Regions from separate parts of the Homo sapiens genome. Here regions 2, 3 and 4 are each linked to region 1. Evidence: promoter capture Hi-C in 16 types of primary human blood cells and fetal thymus (Javierre and others, 2016). All regions are on one chromosome and are shown on one strand. The core of a region is centred on a gene start or on the middle of the fragment in contact, and the rest is flanking DNA. Distances in the headings are between cores, read along the strand shown.

What was found. The method cuts DNA at HindIII sites, captures the fragments that hold promoters and counts their contacts. A CHiCAGO score of 5 or more calls a contact.
Region 2: a fragment that was not itself captured here is called in contact with the fragment with the promoter of COXFA4 in region 1 in 6 of 17 cell types (non-activated CD4 T cells, total CD8 T cells, naive B cells and 3 more); the score reaches 12.2 in non-activated CD4 T cells.
Region 3: a contact is called between a fragment that was not itself captured here and the fragment with the promoter of COXFA4 in region 1, in 1 of 17 cell types (non-activated CD4 T cells). The highest score is 5.5, in non-activated CD4 T cells.
Region 4: a contact is called between a fragment that was not itself captured here and the fragment with the promoter of COXFA4 in region 1, in 7 of 17 cell types (total B cells, non-activated CD4 T cells, monocytes and 4 more). The highest score is 13.8, in total B cells.

The regions. Positions count from the first base shown.
Region 1 is chr7:10,938,610-10,941,437 of GRCh38, reverse strand. COXFA4 (cytochrome c oxidase associated subunit FA4) reads left to right here and starts at 1,285. Exons shown (of 4, transcript NM_002489.4): 1 at 1,285-1,422; 2 at 2,542-2,630. The coding sequence starts at 1,381. LOC107986767 (a long non-coding RNA gene) reads right to left here and starts at 1,182. Exons shown (of 3, transcript XR_001745091.3): 1 at 707-1,182. RefSeq lists a silencer at 753-1,002 and enhancers at 228-1,148, 1,033-1,302. The HindIII fragment of the contact is 7,174 bases long and covers 1-2,828 here.
Region 2 is chr7:12,257,939-12,260,922 of GRCh38, reverse strand. No RefSeq gene overlaps it. Among named protein-coding and RNA genes, the nearest start is that of TMEM106B, 48 kb to the right of the region's middle. The HindIII fragment of the contact is 1,349 bases long and covers 1,004-2,352 here.
Region 3 is chr7:12,693,973-12,697,243 of GRCh38, reverse strand. No RefSeq gene overlaps it. Among named protein-coding and RNA genes, the nearest start is that of ARL4A, 8.0 kb to the right of the region's middle. The HindIII fragment of the contact is 468 bases long and covers 1,075-1,542 here.
Region 4 is chr7:12,214,904-12,217,825 of GRCh38, reverse strand. It overlaps TMEM106B (transmembrane protein 106B), which reads right to left. Exons shown (of 8, transcript NM_001134232.2): 2 at 2,799-2,922. Among named protein-coding and RNA genes, the nearest start is that of TMEM106B, 5.1 kb to the right of the region's middle. The HindIII fragment of the contact is 1,747 bases long and covers 525-2,271 here.

The DNA of each region.
Region 1 (2,828 bases), core at 36-2,535:
TGGCCCCTTGATAGGTCTTTCCCCTCTCACGCTTATCCCTTCTAATCAATTATTCACAAAGCAATCATTTAAAAACACAACCTTCCCAAGCTCTCAACATAAAACCCATGATGTTTAAGCGGTTATTGGCCCAGCAGATCTGATCCCCACCTTGCTCTCCCTTTTACTTTCCAGCCACACTAGACCTCATACAGCTCCCTCGGGTTTTCAATAGCTTCAGACCTTCACGTGTTATTACCTCCGCCCTGTACACCTGCATCCTCCGTTTTCACCTGGTTAATGTCCGCTCCTCCTTCAGAGCTAGTGTAACTTCCGGTGGAGCCTTCTCCTATGATTTCTAGTCCCAATTATTAATACTTGCTTGATCATTTGATTAATGCTTTAAGCTACGTATGAGATTGGAGAGGGTTCAGAGTGTACATTTTATCCCAATCCCCCCACCCTCCCCCGCAAAGCCTGTCCTATGGAAGTCCTTCGGGTAAAAAAAACAACGAAGAAAACAAAACAAAAGACAAATGAAAATTCGACTGGGGTAGTGGGAAAGATTATCTGTAGCTACACGACCATTGAAAACACATTTTAAAGATGCAATTTGGGACCAGGGACGGGGGATAGTGGCGTGTTGGAAAGGTCTTTGTGGCGACGAACTTTCAACCGAGGGCCAGGATCTGAGGGTTCAGAAATACACTGCCAGGACTATTATCACCTTTAAGTCATTTACTAGTTTTTAACTTCTGCTTGTCTGCGACAGCGTAACACAGGAAGCAGCTGCAGTCTTCTCAAACCGCAGCCGCTGACCTTAGCGGCAAGAGGCCCGACCTGCCCTCCAGGCGCCCGGCGCTCGGCTCCCAGAGGCGCCGCGCAGCTCCCTCAGCGGCAGTCACAGCTGGCCAGCGCGCACCCGGCACGCGCGCCCCCAGGGCCTCTGCGCGCGGACCCGGCTCTCAGGCGCCGCGGGAGAGGCCCCCTACTCACGGAGCGCGCGGCCCGTGCGCCCACGCTCCGACCGCATTCCTCAGTACGTGGCACCCTTGGAAAGTGCCTGTCTGGTCAATCGAAGAGTCCTCGTTTCGACCAAAAAAATTCCCCTCAGAAATATGCATGGCACGGCAATGAAGGCATTTCACTATGAAGTGGAATGATGATGGTCCGACCAGGTCAGGACGAACATATGAGGGGTTAGATCTAAGCAGGCACTATTAAAGACAGTCGCATCCGGGCCCTCCTGCCGCAAGCTGCCCTCCCAGCCAAGGGTCCTTCAGGTAGGAGGTCCTGGGTGACTTTGGAAGTCCGTAGTGTCTCATTGCAGATAATTTTTAGCTTAGGGCCTGGTGGCTAGGTCGGTTCTCTCCTTTCCAGTCGGAGACCTCTGCCGCAAACATGCTCCGCCAGATCATCGGTCAGGCCAAGAAGCATCCGAGCGTAAGTTCGTGACCGCTCTCCTAATGTTTTCCCTTGTCCTTCTTGCGTCGGGGTGCGCCTCTTTCTGTTCCCTGGGAACGTCCTCATTTACAGCCACTTACCGTCCGTCAGACCAGACCCTGCCTCGCCTAGTGTTTGTCATCTTAGTTGTCCCAGGCCTCTGTGACCCTCTACGCCATGCATTGTGGGGTTTTGTCTGACAGGAGGAAGGAGACGGACACTGCTCGGAAAAAAAACCTAGTTTTTTCTAGTTAGTGAATATTGGAACAGTCTGGTGGCCGCTCTCTTTTGCAGGTTGTGCGGTCCAGGAGGGATAGATGTGCGCTGTGTGGGTCAGAGACTAGCATAGGTCAGGTTCCCTATGTGTTATACCATCTCTGGAGGTTCTTGTATTCGCCGCATTGCACCACCAGGCCTTTTGGTAAATAAGAGGGGTCCGTGATCTTGGAATCCTCACTTTGTCTGGACGTCGTTGCTTTTGGGAAAATTTCGAAGTGTGGAAATTGCAGTTAAGTTCTTTGGCATCTCATTTTTCCTCAGCACATCAATGTGCTGTAGAGCTAAAAGTCTATGCAATCTTTAATCTGTCTTAAATCCGGTTCCCTAAATACGCAGCAAGCATTGGTAGCATTACGTTTTCAGAGATAATGCTTAAAGCCAGTATTTGTAATAGATACGTTTACTTATTCAGATTCTATTTTTCATACATCTTTATAGAGGCACCCTTAAATAATTTGCAAAGAATTTGTTTTTCAAGCCCCAGGATAAAGGAAGCCAGAAAATTTAATGGGAATGACATGTAAATATTAGAGAGGTGAAGAAGACTCGATACATTTTCTTGGAAATTTAAAAATGTACCTATAATTTGCTCCACATTAAAAAGTAAGACACTTAAACCAGAGTCATCTTAACATCCTTTCCAAATTCCATTTCTTTCTTTAGAACACAGTTATAAGAAATCTTACCTCAATGTAAGATCTACTTTATTTAAATTTTAAGACAAAACAGTCCAATAACAGTTTGAGACTTGGAAATCAATGTGCAGAAACTACTGTAATCTCTCGTTGGCCAGTGTTTTAAGTATTTGAAGATGGTTATTCTATTTTGTGTTTGGTTTAGTTGATCCCCCTCTTTGTATTTATTGGAACTGGAGCTACTGGAGCAACACTGTATCTCTTGCGTCTGGCATTGTTCAATCCAGATGTTTGGTAAGTACTTAAAAATGTTTAAAACTTTGATAGCTGATCAAGGCAGTTTAGGAGCCACAGTCTCTGTAGGGCGATAACATTAGGGTAGTAGAAAGAATGTTACATTTACAGTCATACAATAAGTTCAGATCTCAAATCTGCTGTTTTCATTTACTTTTTTTGGTTCATGAAATTATCTAATTTCTCTGAGTCTCGTTT
Region 2 (2,984 bases), core at 429-2,928, 1.3 Mb before region 1:
AGAATTGTCACACCCAGAATTACTCTCCTCATGAAGAGATGACTGATTATTTTTTCTCTCCTCTCACCCTTACAAACTCCCTTTGTCTTGAGGAAAATGATGTCAGCTAGGTAGAAGAAAAAAGGCAAGGGTGAGAAGAGCAGTCTCCTCAGTAGAATTCTTTCAGGGGATTTTCCATTTTAAAGGTTGATATTTTCTGACAAAAATGACTCTTTCATTGATGGAGATCCAGGTATTACACCAAAGTTTGTTGAAGAGATTGCTTGTGTCATTGTATCCTATGCTTAGCTACCTCAGTTGAAATTCAGGACAGTATAACAATTACAGTTGTGTGTTTTGGAAAATATGACAAACATATATAGGGTTGCGAGGATTTATTGTTAAACTAGGACATTAAAGTACTATCATAGCACAGAGATGCTATGGAGGAGAGGATAGAAAGGCAAGATGAAAGATATATAAAAATGTATGAAATTTTTATGAAGTTATAACTTAAACAGTGAAAGAATCATTAAAATTTCTTCAGTGTAAAAAATGCATCTAAAAACTTAGATGTCTCTTCCATAGGAAAAAAAAATAGCAAGTGTTTTTTCAAACTCTTTATAGACATTTATATCTTAAGTGTCTATTCCAGATTCTCATTTGCCTTCTTTACAATCGAGGAATGACTTTTTAGAGGTACAATTAATGACCCCATTCTCTTTCACTAATATAAGAGTATAATTATTTCATTGGAAAGCACTACTATATATTATATTTCTTTCATATCTTTGTTCATGTATTAGTCTCATACAGTGCCTGCCTTATAAGATATTGTAAGAAATTATCAAGATAAATTTAATGCAGAAATAACAATGGTATATAATGTCCCTACTTATTCATTTATGCTTACATAACATTGGAGGTGCTCAAAAGGTTCCACGAGTATTGAGTCATTAAAGCTTAGTACCCCTGTGAGGTATGCTTGGTTATTATCATTATAGTTTATTAGACAGATCAAGCTTCCCCTGGAGTCCTGAAAGCTCTTACAGAAAGTGTTGGCTTTTTAATATTCTGCATCTGAGAATTACAACTCAGGTTTATGAAATTAACTCATTTTTCTTAGGATTGTCTCTTTCTTTTGAGTTATATGGTTTCACCTTCTTGTAGCATAGCAGAAACAGTGCACACCCAGCTTTTAGAAAACCTGTAGTTGAAAGGCTATTTCATCTCCTTCCAGAGATACAAAGAAGAGGCAAAATATTTGAGGGATTATAAGTAACCAGTGGGTGACATGAAAATTATTGATATATTTGCTAATATTTATTGAAAAATATACAATGTGCCAAGATTGTGCTAAATCCATTCCAGAGACCAGAGGCTTTGAAAGTCTGCATATTTTGCAAGTGCACAGCTCCATAAGTGGAAGAGCTAGTCCGGAACTCTAGCCTTTTGACTTCTAGCCCGATGCCATAGCCTCCATCCCTGAATTTCCCCAAATTTGATATGCTTGCTACCAGTGAGATAGAACTTGATTTTTCTCTGTACACAAGTATACTTTACTAGTTATATATTTCACTGCATTTTAAAATAATATTATTTCCCCACTAAACTGTGGTATGATAGATATCATTCCCTAGGAGAAAGCTAAATCAGGTAGAATTTGGGTTTAGGAAGTAAGTAGAAATGACAAAAATCACAAAGGTGGAACATTAAACTTTAAAGTCTGGAAGACCTACTATGTATCATATCACAGACTGAAGTGTATGAGGTAGTATGAAGTGAGTGTGGTTTGAATAACAAGAAGAAAGAAATAGGCTTTTAGCTCTAGCTCTAGTTTCTGTTTATTTTTGAGGAGATGAAACTGTTGAAAAATGTTTTCTTGCTTTTGCTTCTGGATATGTAAAAACTATTAAGGAAAAAAAACTTTAAAATAAGCAGCTTATCCATCATGGGGCCTTTAGATTCAAACTGATTGGTTCTGAAACCATAGTACATCCACTTACTAGTTGTGTGACCTTAGGAAAGTTAATTAACCTCTCTGAACTTCAGATTCTTTATTTATGAATGGTGATGAATGGTGTGAATGGTGATGTTATTTGTGAATGAACAGACACAATGTCTACAGAGTGCTTAACTTGTATTAGAAGGCATTCAGCAAAAGGTATCTACTGTTGTCATTTCTAGCACATTATTACCTCTTCTCTTTGAAACTTGCATCTTTGAAAGTATCATCAGTTACATCAGTCACTATAACTGTTAGCCCCTGACTCACTGTCATTCTCTTCTTTATTTCAGGTTTTGATGAGAACATGAATAGTCCTTTTAAATGTGGGCGCCTCTGTTTCTTGAACTCCCCTCTTCCCCAAAGCTTGTCTTCCACCCTAATTCAACCACTCAGTCTCATGGTCACATCCTAGACCTTGACATTGTCAGTACCTGGTATCCTCCCCAACTATAATCTCATTATCTAGTCTCCTCATCACAAAAATTTCAACATCACCTTTTTCACGAATCTGTTTTTACTGACCCTTACCTTCTTGTTGTTCCGTCTCCTTCGTTACTAGTCTGCTCAAGCTGCCATAACGAAGTGTGGTGGCTTAAATAACAGAAATGTATTTTCTCATGGTCCCAGTGGCTGGGAAGTCCAAGATCAAGAGTGCCAGCCAATTCAGGTTTTGGTGACAGCTGTCTCTTGGATTGCAGGCAGCTGCCTTCTTGCTGTGTCCTCATGTGATCTTTCCTCAGTGCAAAGATCTTTTCTGGGTGCACTGATATTTTTTTTTTTTTTTTTTGTTTTTTTTTTTTTTTTGGGTAAAGAGAGGAGAGGTCTCTCTCATACTCTATTTATAAGGCCACTAATCTCATCATGAGGGACCCACTTACATGACCCCATCTAGCTCTAATTATCTCCCTTAGGCCTTACCTCTAAATTCCATTGCACTGGGGGTTAGAGCTTCAACAAATGAGTTGCGGCAGGATATATTCACTCTGTAACACTTCTC
Region 3 (3,271 bases), core at 59-2,558, 1.8 Mb before region 1:
AGACTCCAAAAAAAAAAAAAAAAAAGATGTATGCTGCAACTATGGAATAACAAAAAGAATAGTAAAAGAATGTATAACCAGGGGGGAGGGGTGAGGGGGTGAGAAGAAAAAAGACTTAATCTAAAAGAAAGAAAGGACATAAAAATAAACAGTCAAATGGAAAAATGTGGTAGATTTAAACAAAATATCAGTAATTTGTAATTAAATATATAAAGACCAAGTAAAAGCAAACTATCATTAAAAATACAATTGTCAGACAGGTAAATGCTCTATTCTGATTTTGCAACTTCATATCCTGCCATTCTGTCGATTGCTCACCAGTTCTAAGCATACTTAGTCTACTCGGTTCAGTGATTTTCCATCTCAGGGCCCTTGCAAATAAAGTTCCCTCTGCCTGAGATGCTCTTTCTTCTACTCTTCTCATAGCTCTTTAGATAAATCAGAAAAATCTCCAACCACTTTATCCAGTGAAAGTCACCCCTATTGTTTTCTCATCCTTAGCCCTCTGTTTCCTTCATAGCACTTTTCACATTTTTTATTTTACTAACTGCAACCTCTACCTCCTGGGTTCATGCCATTCTCCTGCCTCAGCCTCCTGAGTAGCTGGGACCACAGGCGCGTGCCACCATGCCCGGCTAATTTTTTGTGTGTATATTTTTAGTAGAGATGTGGTTTCACCGTGTTAGCCAGGATGGTCTTGATCTCCTGACCTCGTGATCCACCCACCTCGGCCTCCCAAAGTGTTGGGATTACAGGCGTGAGCCACCACGCCCGGCCTATTTTATTAACTTTTGTCTGATATCCCTTTAGAATTAAGCTTCATTTATTTGTTAACTATGCACATATGTGAGTGTTTAGTATGTGCTGTGTGGTTTATAAGAGCTAGGGATATGGCAATGGATAAATGCCCCGTCCCTGTGGAGCTTACTTTCTAGAGTAGGAAAGAGACAAACTACCCTTCTGTTTTGGTGATTGCTATATTCTAAACACCTGGCAGCATGAGGCAGTTGTTCATATACCTGAGTGAATGTTTGGTCTACTTGCTAGAAATCATGCCAGATGACTCATAAAGCTTCCTTCATAAATAACCTTGTAAGAGAGATAATGTTGCCATTTAAAGGTGAGAAGGCTGTAGCTAAGAGAAATTAAGTAACTTGCATTCAGTTACACAGCTAATACATGTCAATACTCTACCTGTATAATTTAACATAAACACCCAGTTTCTAACATGAGAGCTGCTGACAGATTGATCAAGCAAGAAAGACCATCTTTCTTTATAGAATAGACTGAACGTGTTTTACTTATTTGATGAATCAAATGCATCTTGGGTTTAGCCTATTGGTTATAAGCCATTTGGATCTGCCCGTTTTCTTCAAGTATTCCTACTGTGATAGGTCTTTGATTTTTCCTTACCATATCTGCTAGTCCTCAAAATAATTGGCTATCATCATTGAAACCCGTGACATTCAAAGTTCTCAAAAGGGTTACAGAAAAAACAACACTGTAGGCACTACTTATTAATAGTACTTCATCTCTAAAGCTTTAACTGGTCTCTTGTGAGATGGGCAGGACTATTTGTAAATTTCTAAGATATCACCTATTAAGCATACAATATATATAAAATTAGTAAAAGGAAAAGTGTCTATTCCATATTGCCTTTCCCTGGGGTTGCTCAGATTTCTCCTAAGCCATCTGATCTGAGACATCCCTGGATCAGACAGCATTCTGTTTGGTTATTATGACATAAATGTCAAGCCAATGAAAAACATTCCACTATGTAGAAGAAAAGGGTCTAAGACAGGTAAAGTTTCACTAGGCCAGTTCTATTTATGATCCCTTTATTCCTGCCACTAAAAGTATTATCCCTCTGGCATCCCCAGCCCACAATTTTTAAGTTCCAAAACAATGGTTTCTAAATCTGGCTGATCTAGGTGTGTTTAAAAAACATCCTACAAAGAGGTGGAATATAAATTACTGGACCCATTTCCTAAAGATTCCATTCAAAATGTCTGAAGTGAAGTGTAGGAATCTCAAGAGCTCCTTAAGTCATTCTGAAGTATAGCCAGTTTAGAAAAATGTCATTCTAGGGAACTCCATTTTGTCACTCACCCATTTCTGGGTATCTTCAGGTAGATGACAGATTAAGGGAAACAAGCACTTTTCATCTGAATACTTAAGAAATACAACAGCCCACTGGATGCCCACAATTTCTAATCCCCTGCTGTTTAGTTATTCAGTTTCTGCACTAAAAAGGAACAAAGAAAAAACCCCATAAAACAAATATTCAGATTCTCGTTGACATTACAAAGAGCTGCAACAGGAAGAGTTCTTTTTCAATCAGAGGGCTGTTATATATCAGATGTCTTCCATGTAAATTACTTAAATTTTCACAAAACAATTCTACTGCTTGAACTGAGAAGAAAAATATTGCCTAGAAAAAATTCCTCATGATTGTGGAAAATATTCATGTACATCAATTTTAAAAGAGAGGTTCCTAAAGTATTGTGTGTAAAATTTTTTGTCCCAAATTCAGTATTTTTAAATATACTTGAAGAACTGTATATATTAAATAAACCAGACTCAACATGTCTACAAAGCAAGTAAGAGATTTTGTGAAACAAATATATCTAAAACATAATCCCACATAAAATAACAATTCCAAGTGACCTTAAAATACAAGAATTTACCTCCAGTGAGATATACCTAAAGGACAAAGGTAACTACAACATTCTTAAACCACTACCAGTCATCAAATTATTGACAGTAGTATTGCATTGAGATTAAAGTGGAATAAAGCAAATAAACAACTGTGTGTTGCTCATAACTAATATTTTTGGCATGAGTGAAAAGAGATAATAATATCACTGAAACTAAATAAATGCCTTATCATTCTGAATGTAAATCTTTGAATTGGAACTATCACTGTGAATTAATAATGTATCTAATCTTAAAAAAATAGAGTTCTAGTACTATCCACTGAAAAGGCCTAGAAACAATGACAAATCCAGTAATAGACTGTGGACTCTAAATACCATTTCCTAATACAAGGAACCTGGCATCCTAGAAAAACAGATCTGGGACAGGAAATGTACAGGTTAAGGGACTTTGTGTTAAATGAGAAATCAAAAAAGCCATCAAAAACTACTAGGGTTCTGTGAAAAAGACTCAGTTCTCTCTAAAGATGAGACAATTTATGCATAAATGGGAATAATAAGCTGCAAGAGATAGAAATATATCAATATATCAAATATATATATATTTTTTGAAATGG
Region 4 (2,922 bases), core at 149-2,648, 1.3 Mb before region 1:
TTATTAGAAGTTGGCTTATCATATTAACTATTAAGGTATCAGATAGTCAAGTTCTCTTTAAAAGCTTTCTAAAATGCTTCTGTTATTTCCCCCGACACATCTATACTCTTCCTCTCATCTGTGCTCCCCCATCACACCCATATATAATTATACAAATACATATAACATGGATATCTGTATCTTTGTGTGTTTACATATCTCACCTTGTTTAGTGGTATTCATCTGGCTAAAACTACAACCCTGGTTAAAACCAACCCTCTGGCTCCTATGCATATATCAACAGAGCTAAACATGGACACAGAAAAACACACAACTACACTCACTGGTTTCATTTTTGATCACTCATGTCAAGTAGCACTTAATGATGTCAACAATCATACTACATTTCCCAAGTTCATACTCTCAAGCTGACTCTCCAAGACCACAATTTTATAACTTCAACTCTCTTCAAATCTTTAATATCTTCTTCGCTATCCTCATTCTTAGTTCATTATGTGATAAATGGAAGATAATTTCTACAAGCTTCTATTATCAGATCTATCCACCTACCTGCTTCTGTGTCCATACTTTACCTTCTCTTTTATTACCAAGAATAAACCACCTGTGCTTATAACTTACCTTTTATAGAAAAAAAGAGCAGCTCTTTGTTCTTGTGCAGTAGATCTGCCCTTCTGTCTATTCAAGAACATTGCTCCAATAATTCTCTTATCTCCCGAATTACCAATGTTTTCTCTACAGATAATTCTCATCAGTATACAACTGTCTATTATTCACTCTATCTTACAAAGAAAAAAAAAAATCCCTCTCCTGACCTCACAGCCCCTTCTAATGACTACCTCTCTTCTCTCTGCTATGGAGCCAAACCCCTCAGAAAATCTATTTTCTCTCTATGTAACATCTCCTATGCACTCTTGAGCCCACTCTATACATGCTACACGTCTTTACCAAAACCGCTCTTTTAAACTCTTCTGTGGCCTCCATATAACCAAATCCAATGGCCAGTTCTCAGTCTTCACACTACCCAATCTATCAGTAGCATATGACAGTTGGTCACTCTTTCCTCCTTGGTACACTTTCTTCACTTATCTTCCATGATACCACACACAATGATTTCCTCCTCTCATTCTAACTTTTCTTTCTCAGGGTCCTTTGTTAATTCTTTCACTGACCTTGATATGCTACAGTGTCTCAGGATTCGCTAGGGTCTCATTTTTGCCATCTGCACTGACTAGCTTGCTGCTGTCATCCAGCTGAGCTTTAAGTGTCATCTATACATTGGTAACTTGAGGCTGGGCGCTGCAATTGAATTCCTGACCCTTATGATAACTAACTGCCTAATGAACATATCCACTTCCACGTCAAATAGGCATCTCCAAATATCCATGTCTAAACTTGAGCTCCTGAACTCTCCTGTGACATATACACTCAAATAATCTTTTTTTTTTCAATTTTAATAAATTGCTACTACATTCTTTCAGTTGCTCAAACAAACCCCCCCAAAAAAACTCTGGAGTCATCCTTGATTTCCTACTTTCCATAATCTGTATCCAGGCGGCCAAAAAAGTTTACTGGTCATACCTCAAAAATGTAACCAGACTGCTAAAACAGTACTCCCCTACCCCCTGAGCCTGGTGCATTAATCCCTTCAACTACAATAATTATTTTATTCTTAAATAGCTACTATCCTTGTGAAAATAAAACCATCATACTCAAAGGCCAACGCAAATGTAAACTTCAATTCAAACCCACAGCATTTTAAGATACATTTTAAGCATCTTAAAAAGGTACACAAAGTATACTTTATACTTTGACCTTCTTCCCTCTGGGTATCTCCAGGGTCACACATCAACTTTCACCAAGAAGATAATGAGAACAGCATAAAGTATCTTTATTATTTCTACTTATTGCCACTGTTCCTAAAGTAGCTTACAAGCAGCACACAGGGGATTATTTCCTTCTGACGTCCCCTATGATATATCACAAACAATTTTTTTTTTTCAATTTGGCTCATTTTCACGTACCATCCCTCTTCACAGAGTTTCTTTAACTCATTAGGGCACAGCCAGCTTATTCTTCTTCTTTAGATAATGAATTAAAAATATTAGGTTGGCCAGGCGTGGTGGCTCACAGCTGTAATTCTAACACTTTGGGAGGCCAAGGCTGGATGATCGCTTGAGCCCAAGAATTCGACATCATCCTGGGAAACATGGGGAAACTCCATCCTTATTATTAAAAAAATAAAATTTTAAAAATAACATGAAAGAATAAGCTTCCTTACACATTAACTCTGGCTGGGCATGGTGGCTTACTGCTATAATCCTAGCACTCTGGGAAGCCGAGGTGGGAGGATTGCTTGAGGACAGGAGTTCAAGACCAGCCTGGCCAACAATTGCGAGATCTCATCTCTTAAAAAAAAAAAAAAAATAGGTCAACAAATTACTTAAATTGCTTCTAACATCTGATATAGCAAAGTAGCAAGTAACTATGATGTCATCTCTACAGATGCCAAATAGGACTAAAAGTTTTCATTTACAAGACAGTGAATATCTGCTATAATAGCAGGTGGGAATGAAAAAATACTGGAGGTAGTGAGGTGGTTTTCTTTACTGCTTTAGGAACCTTAATTAATACTTTATTTGTTTCTTTTGCATCTTTTTGACTGAAGGTAACTGATATGATGTTTCAACTTTAATTCTAAGAGTCCTCTAAAACAGGTGGTTCCTGAGACCCACAGTTTTTATAATACTTGAGCAAATACCTAAAATCATTTAAAGGGAAAACAATACAATAACACATACCCCTAGGAATTCTTCCTGTTCCCTGACAAGTAGGGCAGGTGACACTATCTCTTCCTGTAAATTCCACATATGGAAACTGAGAGACATCTCCATTTCTTCCATCTTCATTATGGACTTCACTATT